Linked DNA regions of Homo sapiens: region 2 is linked to region 1. Evidence: promoter capture Hi-C in human tissues and cell types (Jung and others, 2019). All regions are on one chromosome and are shown on one strand. The core of a region is centred on a gene start or on the middle of the fragment in contact, and the rest is flanking DNA. Distances in the headings are between cores, read along the strand shown.

The links. Contacts are between HindIII fragments. The study calls those that stand out against the background at their distance.
Region 2: a contact is called between a fragment that was not itself captured here and the fragment with the promoter of ZFPM2 in region 1, in 2 of the 25 tissues and cell types used here (H1 embryonic stem cells and IMR-90 fibroblasts).

The regions. Positions count from the first base shown.
Region 1 is chr8:105,314,696-105,322,161 of GRCh38, forward strand. It overlaps ZFPM2 (zinc finger protein, FOG family member 2), which reads left to right and starts at 3,743. Exons shown (of 8, transcript NM_012082.4): 1 at 3,743-4,286. The coding sequence starts at 4,247. RefSeq lists an enhancer at 6,607-7,466. The HindIII fragment of the contact is 7,749 bases long and covers 1-7,069 here.
Region 2 is chr8:105,007,267-105,014,732 of GRCh38, forward strand. It overlaps the pseudogene RPL29P18. Among named protein-coding and RNA genes, the nearest start is that of LINC03084, 180 kb to the right of the region's middle. The HindIII fragment of the contact is 6,178 bases long and covers 1,785-7,466 here.

The sequences.
Region 1 (7,466 bases), core at 2,493-4,992:
CCCTTGGAGGAAAGAACACATTTTAAAAACAAATCCAAGAGTAAGACATACATGAATGCAATCCATTTACACTGAGAGTGCATTTCTGAACTGTGCCAAATAAAGTAAGAATTTTTGTAGAGAAATTTATTCCTTCTACCTTGCTTTCCCTAAATAACATTATAGTCAAGAATTAAATGTATTTATATCTGTAGGAAGTACTTTAGAGTTTCTCTGCCTTTCCTGGAAACACTATTATAAACCACCATAAATTTTTGGAAATGCTAAATTTGTAGGTTTGCCAGATAAAATACAGGATGCTCAGTTAAATTTGAATTTGATATAAGTCATAATTATTTTTTAGGATAAATACATACCAAATATTGCAGGGAACATACTTACCCTGAAAACTTATCGTTTATATTTAAATAGACATCTTGTATTTTAATTTGCAAAATCTGGTACTCCTATAAACTTTCAACTAATATTTCATTCAGTTGTAAATAAGCACTTGGTTTTGCATATTAATGTAGTTTGGGTACTGGCATCTTATTTTATTTTCCTATGTATGTTTTCTAGCTAAAATGACTATTTAAGAATACAGTAGTACCCCTTATCTGTGGTTTTAGTTACCTGAGGCCCCAAAACAGGTGACTACAGGACAATAAGATATTTTGAGAGAGAGACATAGAAAGAGGAGAGAGACCACTTTCATATTACTTTTATTACAATATATTGTTATGATTGTTCTATTTTTAGTTGTTGTTTATCTCTTACTGTGCCTACTATAGAAATTAAACTTGATCATAGGTATTTTGTATAGGAAAAAGCAGTATATATAGGGTTTGGTACTATCCGTAGTTTCAGGCATTTACTGAGGGCTTTGGAATATAAGCTCTGGGTATAGAAGGGTACTACTGTATATACAATTTTATTCTCATTGAAGTTGTAATACAATACTTTGAGCTTTTATTCTGTAAACAGTTTCCATTCACATACCTTTTCACTTCCAAAGAACTTTATGAAAAAAGCTAGACTGAAGTAGATGTTTGTTTCAGATTGAGTTCAGATCTTTTTTTTTTTTAACATTTTAGAAAATATTATTACAAGTTGCATTTTTCCAGTTTTTAAAGTAACTGGCATTTTACATGTAATTTAAAATGATTTGTTTCTTAAAGCAGAAACTTTTCTAAACAAACCATTATGTAGACATTAAATCGGTGAGCCTAGAAATCAATAATTTATTTTTAAGCAAATGAGAAATTATTTTGTGCTTTTATTTGTACATTTGCACATTTATAGTTAAATTGTAATTTGCGATACAGAGGGTATTAGTTGTGAATTGTGGTTTTCAGTATCACAGACACATTTGTTGCTGTGGTTTTGCAATATCATTCCCTGATGCTTTTCTCAATTGTGGTTTTCATAATCATTGTTTGATAGTCATGTAGCTGTGGTTTGGGGCTGCTATATCCATTTGGACAGAGATAATTGCTTATAGGTTTTTCCGTCTATTTATTTTATAACCTCAGTGAATTAAACTAGAAAAAAAGAAAAACTGAACCTTAAATATCATTAATATTCTCATTAAAAATAATGAAAAAATATAAAATGTAATAGTATTCATTATTTTAATTCATTCATATTGACTATATTAATATATATTTATAAATTTAGATAAACTAATATCTATCTCTAATAATGCATTCTGGTTATCAATCTTGCCTTGAATTCTCTGACTTCTGCTCCTTTTAGCTTTTAAACTAAACATTTAGCTGAGATTTATTTGTTTTTCTTTTGCATTGCATATTTAACCACTTCAAACTCCAAAAGAAACAGTTACGATATTTTAATTCCAATGGGCATTCCTTTTGGGTGACATAAAAATTCAGCCAGTTCTGTAAAAAGATCTTTAAAAACCATAATGTACAATACATCTGATTCTAAGCACACCAATTTAACTGTAATGAATTGAAAATGAAGGAGGTAAAAATCTGCAGTTCTCTCTCTGCTTATTTATTCCACAACACAAACATAAATGGCCCTGCTTTTCATGGTACTTTCAGCCTTAATTTGTTGGTTCTTCACAGGAGGGACTTTGTCATTTAGTGCATTTTCCACTGCAGAGGACTATGTATTCTTACAGCCTCCTATGGTAATAGTACTAATGGTAATGTAATAAAATTCACAATTTGTCTTCAGCTTTGTATTAAGATTCTCTTGGCCATACCTTTCACAAGGCAACTCTTTACACCTTCCAGAAGATGTCCTGTTGGGGTTATAAATGACACTGATTACAGTGCCTCTTACACACTGAGCATCTTGCATTATGCTCAATCAGCCCAGGCTCTGTGCTGACCCCAGACCCTTTTAGAGTATCCAGTTTGGTGTGGTTCACACAAATAATAGTCAACCAAGCAAACGGGGACACAATTTGAGATCAGAATGGTCCACTTCACAACCTCCTGGGGGAAAAGTCAGCAGTATCTGGGGGACTCATGTGAACTGCAGTGGAGTTTATTAGTAAATACTGATTACATAAAGCAGCTAGTCCCACTGCACTTGGATAGAAGCTCCTTCCAACCCACATGGGAGAATATATTTAATACTTACCGTATATGAAACTGTAAGAAAATAAGCTAACCTCATACAGTTTAACTTGGCCAAAATAATAACTATGCAAATCACCTCAAAATTTGTTCTCCTTTTGGCTTGCAGTTGCCGATATACTACACATACAGTAATTGAATAAGAATAAAACAAAATTTTAGAAGCTAAAGAACCATTAAATAGTTACTGGGTCTTACCCGCTTGGGAAATTACAGCAAGATCAAATCTTTTATTAGTCGATCGGTGCTTCCCTGTGGCAGAAGACTAAGAGAATAGAAAGGTCACGGGGCAGGGTGGGACTACAGAACTTCCCCAGACTTTCCCAAAAAGTTAGTATTTTTATTAGAGATGGTTCGTTTTCCACTTACGGCTAATCAGCTAGCTAACGCTCGCTCCTCCTTTTCAAGATGAGAAAAATATCTGCTTGTCTCCAAATTTGAATATTTTACAATTTAAAATGGAAACTGTGGGTGACAGAACACGTTGAGGATCCGACTCAGCACCTCATCCACGTGGGCCCAGAGCGGGACGGTCCGTGTCCGCAGCGGTCTCCTGGGAGCCTTGAGAGCAAAGAAATGGTCTTCTGAGAGCCTGGGCAGATGAGCGGACTTAACTGGCCCCAAGACACACAGTTGGCATTTGTGATCATCTGGCTCTCGCCGAGGACTTTGCCAGTGGCCTAACCTTCCTGCCAAGAAGCTGGGAGGGCGGGGGTTGGGGGTGAGGGGAGGGGGCGGCATAACTGAAAGCACAAAGTTTAGGGAGAGACTGAGATTTCTTTGTGCCCCGCTGGACTGGCGAGGCGTGAGAGAGGAGAGTTGGGGTCCCTCAGAGAGGGCCGTTGGAAGAAGTTGCCTGGAAGGAGGTGGGGCGGGGTGCCCTGGCAGCTGCCCAGCGTTGACGCGGTGACAACTGCAGAAGGTGGCCCTCCTCCAAGCCGTCCCCACGCCTCCCCTCCAACTCCCACCCACCCCTGCCCCCATCCCCCACCACCGCCTGGATCCCCCGCACTTCGCCCGACCAAGGCCGGGGCCGTAGTTTGCATCCGGACTGGATTTGGATGCAGCCAATCCTCCTTTGGCTGATGGAATAGTCTCCCCTCCCCACAGCCCCGGCGCGCCCCTCCCTCGCGCGCCTCGCCGCCTCCCGCCGCAGAACAGGAGCTGCGCGGCCCGGAGCGGCGGCGGCGGCGCCGGAGTATCCGTCCCGCACGCCGGGGCGAGGGGCGAGCGAGCGCGCTCCTCCTCCCGCGCCCTGCGCCCCCGCGCTCCCCCTCTCCTCGCTGCTCGCTCTCCCGTCCCTCCCTCCTTCTCTTCCTTCTTTCCGTGTTATTTTTCTCTTCTCTTTCCCCTTTTCTCTCTCCCTGACCGTTCGCTTGTACATTCCCATTCTCCCCCCGTCGCTCTCCTCTCCCCCTCCCCTCCTCACTGTCACACTCTCTGTGCCCCCGTCTCTCTTCTCTCATTTGCTTGCTCATCTCCGAACGTGAATCCGCGGCTCCCGGAGGAGCCCAGCGCCCGGAGCACCTGGAGTCCGGCCGGCGGCGGGCCGAGCCTGGCCAGCGGCGGCGGCGGCGGCGGCGGCGGCGGGAGCCGAGGGAGCGGCAGCCGCGACCGCGGGCACCGCGGGAGCCCCAGCGGCAGCAGCCGCCGCCGAGATGTCCCGGCGAAAGCAAAGCAAACCCCGGCAGATCAAACGTAAGTTTGCGCGCGGGGCCGGGAGTTGGTGGGATTATTGCCCAGGAGCGGGGTGCGCGGGACGGGAAAGCGGTGGGTGGGTGGCGGGGCTAGGGGAGATCCGCTCCCGGTCCCCTAGATGTCTCAAACTTTGCCTGAGCAGTCGAAGGGACAACTAGACAGTCATAGACAGACAGACGGCCAGCCCGAGCCTCGGGCAGGAGAGAGGCTGCGAGGAGCAGCCCATGCTTGCCCCGCTCAGCCCTCGCGCTCCCGGGCTGCTTTTTTAATTCCGACCCGCGCACGCTGCGAGTCCCCGGCGCTGTCGTCCAGCCGGAGGGGCAGTCCCGCTCCTTTAGACGCTTATTATTGTTGTTGTCATTGCTTTGTGCGATTGACGTGGGACTACTCTTGGGAACCACTTTTAGTAACCAGGGTAGAAACTTCTCAGAAAAGCTGGGCGGTCGAGACCTCGGGGCGAGGGAGGTAACTTCCCCACGCGGTGGAAAATCAGAGCGTCAGGGTCCCGATCCTGGGCGGTGCCAGAGCCACACCAAACCCGAAGCGAAACAAAAAGTAGGTGTAAAAGTTCGCGCCTCTGCGGCGGGCGGCCGTGCGTCTCTGCCCTGCGGGCGCGGGCTGGTGGCTGGCAGGTCGTGTCCTGGGACTTCGGGCGGGTCCGGCTCACGCCGCCAGGACGCTCAGCCGAGCGGGGATTCGGGTGGTGTCTGGCCCTGGTGGCGCGCGGAGTCCTCCCTGGGAGGGGCCGCCAGTCACTTCCCAGCGCGGAAGCTGTGAGTTCAAGGCGGTGGGCGCGCAGGGGAGTGCATGGCCCTGAGCCCCCGGGTGCCCGGGGGTCCCGATGGTGCTTAGAGGACACGGCGGGTCAAGAGACACCTTCCGAAACAGGCACGCTCGCAGAGATCAAGTCGGTCAACTTTTCTTGGCTTGGGGAGAATTCCTCCAATAGCGTTTTATAGGCCTGCGACATATCTTCAACGCTTTGGCCGAAAAGAAGAAAAAACCTTATTAGTTTATTTTTTGCTAGCTTTATGATGTGTCTGTTTCACCGTGTTGCTCAGAGTCTGCAATTAGTTTTAAACAAATTATGATGTAATTTAAGGATAAGACTTTAGTAGTATCCCTTTCCCCCCTGATTATTAACCATACTCGCCCCACCCCCAAATGTTGAAAATTCTATTTGGTGTAGTTTAAAAATAAATCTTATCAATCAACTTGTCCTTGAAATGGGGGCCAGGTTATAAACAGTTATCAACAGTTAAGTATTCAGATCTTTGTGTGTGTGTGTGTGTGTGTGTGTGTGTGTGTGTGTGTGTGTCTGCTACTTAAACATGACTTTCTAGCTTTTATTTCTTCGATTCCTTCTCTTATACTTCAGTTCTCACTCTATGCAACTTGGGTTAAAGCAAGTACTGGACTTCACTTTTGGCTCAAAGCAGTTTTAATCAAGTAGCGATATCGTTTTTGAAGACTCACTTTTTCAGAATGATTATTCATGGTTTCCACCAATTGCCTTGTAGTTTTTAGGACTCAATTGATCAGATTCCTCTGTTTAAATGTTGCATCTTAGAATACAAAACCGTGCTTATTATAAGATATGATTATAAACATTATTAGATACAAATGCTTTTTAGTTCATGGCTGTCACCTGGGTTTGTTAATAAATAATTAATATTAATTGATTGTATGGCACAAGACCATCTGATTTTACTTGGGAATACTTTGTTATCTTCTCAATTAGCTACATTAATTTTTTTATTTCCTTCTATGTCCACCTCATATAATTGAAGATTAAAGCATTGAAACTAATTGCTGATGCTACTCTTGTGTTACAAGTCATAAAACATTTTAGTGGTTTATTTGAATGCTGTGATTTATTAAGTATCAAAAATGCTTGAAAGTTATTTCATTTGAAAGTGAACAAATATATTTATATATTTATTCACAGTGAGCATTGCCTGCTGATATATGCATACATATGTATTATTTATATGCATGTAATACTTTTATTGGATTCAATTTGGGGTCACAGTGATAATCTGTGCAAATGTGGACACCCCTTCTTCCATTCCACCGTTAAGAAAAGTGAAAAATTAAAGGTCTTTGAATTTCTATACTGGAGTAGTCCTCTTCTTTTAGCTTTTTTAGGGGGTGGGGGAGATACTTAAATGTCGTTTGACCAGCTTTAAAGTCATTTTAGTTGCAATCTATTGACGTTTGTCTCCTTTTGCCTGTTCAGGCATAAGAGGCAGTTTCGCAGATGGAGAAGTTTGTGTTGATATCCAAAGTCGTTATTATTGTAGGTCTCTCCCCCCAGTTTTAGTAGTGCGTAAGAAGTGCACCATTTTCTATTACAAACAACACTGTTACTTTTGATGTTCTGGATCAAATATAAGTTTGGAGAATCTCAGAAAGCTATGCTCTGTGAAACAATAGCATTTCACGCCAGTAATAAAACTGCATTTTAAACTTGGAAATGTCCAGGATTAGAAAATAAAGCTTTGGCACTGCTGATAAAACATACCCAATTTGAAGCAACTATGACAAGCAAAAAGTCAGCTTATACCAGAAACTCTGAAGACAGTCAATTTAAAGGACAAAAAGGTTGTTGGGCACAGTTTTTTTTTTCTTTTACTGCATACAGTTCCCTGCTATCTAAAATTGTGATTTATGCAGTATTTTAATATTTTGCTTATTCTTTCCCCTTGGGTGCTCTCCGGGCAGCGATAAAAAGGCGACGCTGAAAGAGCACCATTAATTTGCTATGATGACTGGCCAGATAAGAGGAGATAATGGGAAAGATAAGCGGAGAAGATATACCATCAGAAACCCGATTATTACCATTAAAATTCCAGCCCAGCAATCTGCAGAAGCCTGATAATTCCTTCTCCGTTTCCACCACTTTGGATGATAAGGCAAAAAATAGTCACTCAGTGCTCCTTGATTAGACTGCCTGGATTTCCTGATAATACAGTGATAAATTATGTATTTTGCCCCCATGTTTTGTCCCAAAATTCAGATTTTTTTTTCCTATTCCAAGACTATATTTTCTGCCCTCCCCTCAGAAGCTTTCTCTCATAAGCTATTATTGTAATCCTGGTTTGATAAAAAGCCCTGATAGGACGGGAGGTGTTTGGTGTGGGAGCCATATCATGCTATCAGCCCATCTCCCCGCACAGC
Region 2 (7,466 bases), core at 3,624-6,123, 310 kb before region 1:
TATACTTTAAGTTTTAGGGTACATGTGCACATTGTTAACTACAAACCTGGGGGCACTGTAGGACTAAGAACTTAGACTTGCTTTTTAGAAATTTGACCCCACATTCTTTGGGCCACAGAAAATGAGAACAACCCTAAATACTAAATTGTGCTTTTTTTTGGTCTTCAAGTTCCCATTTTCCCTTGAATTTTTCTATTTTTTTAGGGCAAAATCACTACCCCAAATAATATTATTTTATATGAAAATAAATTTATGCTTTTGAATGGTCTGGCACATAAACATGCTATTGGAGTGATTAAAGCTAGGATAAAATGGATTTGAATCAATTTTTATAATAGTTTGGTTTTCAGATTACCCAGTTTCATGTTCTGATTCCATTAGTTACTATGTTTGATTATGGAAAAAGTTATCTAGCTTTTCTGAGTCTTATTTTCTTCGTCTTTAAAATGGGAGAAAATAATGGCGATTTGATGGAGTTGTTTTGAAAAGCCATTGATATGGTCTGTACATGCTTGGCATGGAGCTTAGTAGAGTTAAATATCATGGCATATGCCCCTTGACTATTTGAGTTTACAAGGACAAGGAAAATTAGCTGGATTCAGTAACTTAATGCATTACAATTACAAATTAGTTAAGCAAAAATGACCTGTTTCTTCTAGCCTACAAATATAGGTATTCGGAAGGCACATCTGTAGCTCATAATAACTGCTATTTACTGAGTACCTAATACATTTGTGGAAACCAATGTAATACATTTTTTCAAAGATATACATTACCTAAATGAATCCTTCTAGTCACCTATTTTTATTTTATAAATGATGAAACCAAGGCTCATAGACAGTAAGGACTTAGTCTATGATCAAACAGAGTTAACAGAGCAAGAATTTAAAAGCAACGTCTCACTTAGCCACCGTGTTGCACTGTCAACCCATCAGAGAAGCTAAAATATAGTCTGGGATTGTACCACAGGACCACTCAAAATATAGAATCATAAATTATAAATATTATATGAATATTTCAAAGTATGCCTACTGTTTTTAAAACCTTTTAACCAGTTCATTTGTCCCAAGCCAGAGCCTTTGAAAACCTTTGAGTCATGGAGGCTTGCAAGTCTTCATTTGGACCATTGCATTAGTAAGAATATGGCTAAATTTCTTCTTTAAGCTTTTCTTATATTTTTATGTTCATGCTAATTACACCATGTACAAAGGAGTTTCACATATGTTTACAAAACAAACCCTTACTACACTTTTGTAATTACAAAGTCTGCCACTAAATTACTGTTTCATGTGTTTGTGTTTCAATTATTAACTGTGGCGGCATATAACTAAAGCTGAAAACATGTCATTTCTGTGATAATAAGTGAACGCAATTAGCAGCATATCTATTCCACACACAAAATATATTCATTTGCATTCTGTCTCCTTGTATTATTTAACTGCATTTAGGCCAAGTCATGTCATTTCTCTGTTACCTTTTTTTTTCAATCTAGAAGAACTCTGTCTGATTATATAAGTGCTTTTATGATGTCTAAATAAACAGAATTGGGTGAAGTGAAGATCAACAGACACATACCTCACTCACTCATTTGTTTATTTTCTGAATATTCTCCTAAAGCTCTCAATTCTTCCAATTTGTGGTGATTATTTTTAAACTGATGAGCTGGACAAACAATAAAACTTTGCAAGTTCTATAGTTTTATCAATCTCTTTTCCTGGGTGGGGAGCCAAGTCTCTTTATTACTTTCCAGCCATAGGCAAGTAGAAAAGTAGCTCTATTGTCAGTGTTGCATTCACATTATATTAGCCAAAACTCTGGGTGGTATGTAACAGAAACCCAACTCAAAATTGTTTTGGCAAAAACATGAATTAATACAGAGAATTTGGGATCTCACATAGAACTCAAATCTAAGAATGTAGCTGAACCTAATAAATGAATCGAGGTCAGGGACTCAAAAGTCATCAATTCTGGTTCTCTCTCTGTTGTCTTAGTGTCTGCTTCTTTCTTCTCTTCTTTCCACACTCTGCTTTATCAGCCATTCAGCTATGGCCATGGGTGGAGTCATCTGTTTATACTTGGCTGCTCCTTCTGCAATCTTGTGGATTAATTGCACATTTGTGATGATGAGGAAAAAATTCTTAGGAATAGGAGTGTTGGTCAGGCAATTCAATCCAGCAGTCACACATGTACACAAGTGAGCACACACAAATCAATGGCATGTTTGGATGACCAGAAACCATTTCCAACACCATCGCCTGCTTAATATTGGTCATGTTCTCAGACTACATGAAAATCAAACATGCTATAGTGTAGGAAAGGGCAATGGTTTCACTAAATGCAGTGAAATAATGACAATAGTTGCCATTATTGAGCTATTACCTTTGAGTAAGTCACAGTGTTAGAAGCTTTAAAAGCATAATCAAATTTAATTTTCACAATACTATAAAGAGGAAAATATTATTATCCCTATAGAATAATATTATAATGATGAGCTCCAATACTAGCATTATTATTACATGATGAAGCAAAGGCATAGAAAGAGCAAGAGCCATCTCAAAACTGCTCAGCCATGTGAAGTGGCAAAGCTGGATTCATTCTGCAGGCTCTGGGACTACAGAACCCATGTGGTTAACCACTAACCAGTTTATAATTGCATTCAATTTTCATTGTTGTGTCTTCTGTTCAAGATCTCAAAGTCAATTCCTAGAAACTAAGCACCCAGAGCATTCCACTGTGTGATGTTTTGATGGATTGAGATAAACTGATAAGTGATAAAATGATATTAATTATAAGAGAGTTGTAATTGTAGCAGAAATTGTCTGAAAATGGCTCTGTAACACTTGTATCTTAGTCCAGGTCCACTGGTTTTTGTCTGCCTAACCAGTTGTCCTTTCCGTTGTCCACTTGTTTGCCTTGTACACATTTTTTTCTACTCTTGTTCCTTAGAATAGGATTCTGTCCTATTCTGTTACCCTGCTTTTTTCCTTTACTTTAAACTTGGAAGGCAATCCTACCCTCAAAAAAGAGAAGAGATCCTAAACCAAACTCTGTTCACCCAAAACAGATGTAAAGGATACTTTATAACACCTATGTACATGCCATTCCAAAATGAAAAAATATTGACATTTAGTCATCTTTGATTCAGCACATCTTTAGAAAATATTAATAAAACACTACAGATATATTCATCAACAATATTTTTGTTTTGTACGTATTTTTAAATTTACATAATTTGTATTATACCACACATAATACTGTGCTGTTTGCTTTTTTTAATGAGATCTTATGCATTTGAGATCTGAATTGATTAATATCATGTATTCCCAGTAGCTGGGACTATAGGCATGCTTCCACCACGTCAGGCTAATTTTTGTTTTTGTAGAGACAGGGTCTTGCTACATTGCCCAGGCTGGTCTCAAACTCCTGGCCTCAAGCAAGTCTCCTGCCTTGGCCTCCCAAAGTGCTAGAATTACAGATATGAGCCACTGCACCGTGCTCAATATTTTCTCCTAATAGTTTTAGTTATATTTTTCACATTAAGATCTTTTTATACATTTAGACTTCATTTTTGTTTTATTTGTTTATAGTGTGTGTCGCAGATGCTGCTGACATTGTCTACACCTACCTAAGCTCTCCTGCAGCTTAAGAGAATTTCTGCAAGCTGACTATCCCCTTAAAAGTATTTGCATCTCTCTTCTGTGCATGGGAGGCTTCTCTGACACAAGACAGGTATCAAGATCCTGGACAGGTGTTGGGGGAGTTGATGCCCTGGGGCAACCTTCAAAAATGAGATCTATAGTGGTTCTAGGCATTTCAGGAGCCACGGCTTAAGGTGCAGACATGGCCAAGTCCAAGAATCACACCACACACAATCAGTCTCGAAAATGGCCCAGAAATGGCATCAAGAAACCCTGACCACAAAGATACGAATCTCTTAAGGAGGTGGACCCCAAGTTCCTGAGAATCATGTGCTTTGCCAAGAAGCACACCAAGAAGGGCCTAAAGAAGATGCAGGCCAACAATGCCAAGGCCATGAGTGCACTTGCCAAGGCTATCAAGGCCCTTGTAAAGCCCAAGGAGGTTAAGCCCAAGATCCCAAAGAGTGTCAGCTGCAAGTTCGATTGACTTGCCTATATTGCCCACCCCAAGCTTGGGAAGCATGCTTATGCCCACATTGCCAAGGGGCTCAGTCTGTGCCAGCCAAAGGCCAAGGATCAAACCAAGGCCCAGGCTGCAGCTCCAGCTACAGTTCCAGCTCAGGCTCCCAAAGGTGCCCAGTCCCCTATAAAAGCTTCAGAGTAGAGATCTCTGTCTGCCAACGTGAGGACAGAAGGACTGGTGTGACCCCCTTGGGCTGCCGTCTGCATAGGGCTGGTGTCCTCCTATGCTATTTGTACAAATAAAACTGAGGAGGGAAAAAAAATGGAATCCATAGATAAATGTTAGTTTCCCATCTTCTGGGGGACAATCTTAAGGAGTATATGCCACATGTTTTCTCCAAATTCACAGTGAGGATTAAGCTCCAATTTTCATTAACAGCAATCTGTTCATTAACACACCTTTTGTTAACTTTACTCTTCTCACTTTCTCCCGCTTCCTCACTTGAGCCACCAAAGATTGCCTCCAAGTAAACTGCTTGCACCCAAGTCTTCATCTCAGGGTCTGCCAAGCTAAGACACTGTGTGAGACTTTCTACTTTTATTTTTGGAAAGCCATTTTTCTCAATGCCATATATGGAGAAAATCCACTCTTTCTGCACAGATTTGAAGAAGATAATCTCTTATGAGCTTGGTTCCATTTTCCACCTCTCTATTCTACTATTCCATTCATATATTTCCACCAGTACTGCACTGTTTTAATATTCTGCCTTCAATACATGTTTCTTATCCTGCTATGCGAGTTTTTACCCCACTTTTCCTTAGAGAATATCTTACCTGTTTTAGTCCTTTATGCTTTCCAAATCAATTTTAGAATCACTTTGTCATGTTCCATAAAAGATTCCAACAGGATTTACACTGGAATTTTATGGAATTTATATATTGATGTTAAGATCATTTGTCCTTATAAAACTGAATCTTCCTGTACATGACAAATAAACATGCCACATCCCTTCATTTAATGAGAAATTCAATTAAGTCTTTCTGGAATTTTTTTTTAAATTTCTCTATAAAGACTTTGAACACCTGTTACGAAATGTATTATTGGTTTACAGTATTTATTCTCTATAATCAATGTTATTTTTTGTTCTATTATATTTTCTAAGTAGTTAATGCTGCTTCCACTGCTGCATGCTCATCATTAATCCTTGCCATTAATGGCAAGTATTAATTTAGCCTTAGCTCTGTGCCAAGCACTATAGTAATTGTTGAGGATACAGTAGTAAGCAAGACAGTTGGTCTTGCTCTCTAGGAGCTTCCAGTCCAATGGGGTAAGATGTCTCTTATTAGTGAGTACTCACAAATGCTCCAAAAAATGATAGTATACTAGGAAAGAACATGACTTGGAGCAATAAGATTCAGGAAAGGCATCTCTGAGCAGAAACATGAATATGATGAGGAAGAAAGTTACTCAGTATCTTGAGGGAAAATCCTTCCTAGCAGAGGAAATAGCAAATGTTGAGGCCCTACAACAGACAAATTCTCAGTATACTAATATTTTATCCAAAAATCTCAATGAACTATCTTAATTATTCTCATTAATTAATTAGAATTTCTATTGCATTTCTACACAATTCTGCTATCTAAAAATAATAAAGGAGTATTACTTCCTTACCAATCTCTATAATATTTATTTCTTTTTCTTATTTTATGAGATTGACTGAAAAGTCCAGTACAATGTTAAGGAAAGAGAGATAGTAAATAACTTTAATAAGAATATGTCTAAATGCTTAAAATATCTTTAGTAAAAAAAACCATTTATAAGGTTAAAGAAGCTCTTTTTCTTATCATCTTACTATTTTTTAAATTGGTAATAAGTAGTACATTTTTCTGCAGGACTTTTAATAAAAATTAGCAGTCACCTTGGCCACTCCTCTCAACTCTGATTCCTATCCTAAGATGCACCAATTTTAACCTTTTCCCTCTTGTTTTTAGAATTTCCTCCACATTTTTGAATAATACATTACTATGGTTATTTCTTTGTTTTTTTAGTTGTAGACATTGTTTTAGAGTTCCTGCTAGAGGAGCTTAGGATTTAGTTCTGTTTTTAGCACTCCATTCACACTTCTTTTACCCCCTTCTTCTGATGACAGATATATCAAAATTTTTGTTAATAAAATATTCAGTGTTTTTATGATATGTGGATACAGATATCTAGATATACATTTCACAGCCAAGTCATATAGTATACTATGTGTACATTTCTCATGTGACATTTTGTTTCTTTCCTTCCTTGTTTCTGTGGAGCACATCCTTCAGTAGCTTCCTGAAAAAGGATGCCAGTGGGAGGCAATACATATTTTAGATCTTTATTAAGTGTAAAAGTCTTTATTTCTACCCTCATACTTGATTGGGAATATGATTGGAAAGAGAATTCTGTAATCAAATTGCTTTTCCTCAGAATTATGAGGGTTATTTTTGCATTGTCCTCTAGTTGCCAGTGTTGCTGTTAAAATGTCTGATGTCATTCTAATTTTTAACACATTTTGTATGATTTTTTTCTCACTAGAAACAAATGTTAAGTTCTTATCACTAGAAACTTTTAAGATCTCCTTATCCTTAGTGTCTTGAAATTCCATGATAATGTTGCTCGAAGTCTGTGTATGTGTGTGTTTGTTCTCATATTCATTGTGATAGGCACTCAGTAGGGCTTTTCATTTTGAAGACTCATACCCTTCAGTTATGGGAATTTTTTTTGTCTCTAGTCTTTGACAATTTTCTCCTTCCTGTTTCTCTGTTCTTTCTTTCTGAACTCTTAGTATTCACATACTCATTTAAACATCTTTTCTTTTTTAATCTCTTGGGATTTTTGCTTTGCTTTCTGGGAGATTTCTCCAACTTTATTTATTTATTTTTTATTTTTCTGAGAGAGGGAGTCTCACTCTATTGCCCAGGCTGGAGTGCAGTGGCATGATCTCGGCTCACTGCAACCTCCGCCTCCCAGATTCAAGCAATTCTCCTGCCCCAGCCTCCTGAGTAGCTGGGATTACAGGTGTGCACCACCACACCAACTAATTTTTTGTATCTTTAGTAGAGATGGGGTTTCGCCATGTTGGCCAGGCTGGTCTCGAACTCCGGACCTTGTAATCTGCCCGCCTTGGCCTCCCAAAAGTGCTGGGATTACAAGCGTGTGCCACTGCGCCCGGCCCCAACTTTATATTTTTATTGCCCAATCCTTCTATTAACCTTTTTATTTCTGACACCATTAAAATTTTTTTCCAAGACCTCTTTCAGAATTTGAGTGTTTCTTTTTTTCAGACTTCCTATTCTCATTTCAAGAATGCAATATCTTCCCTTTTCTTTGAGACT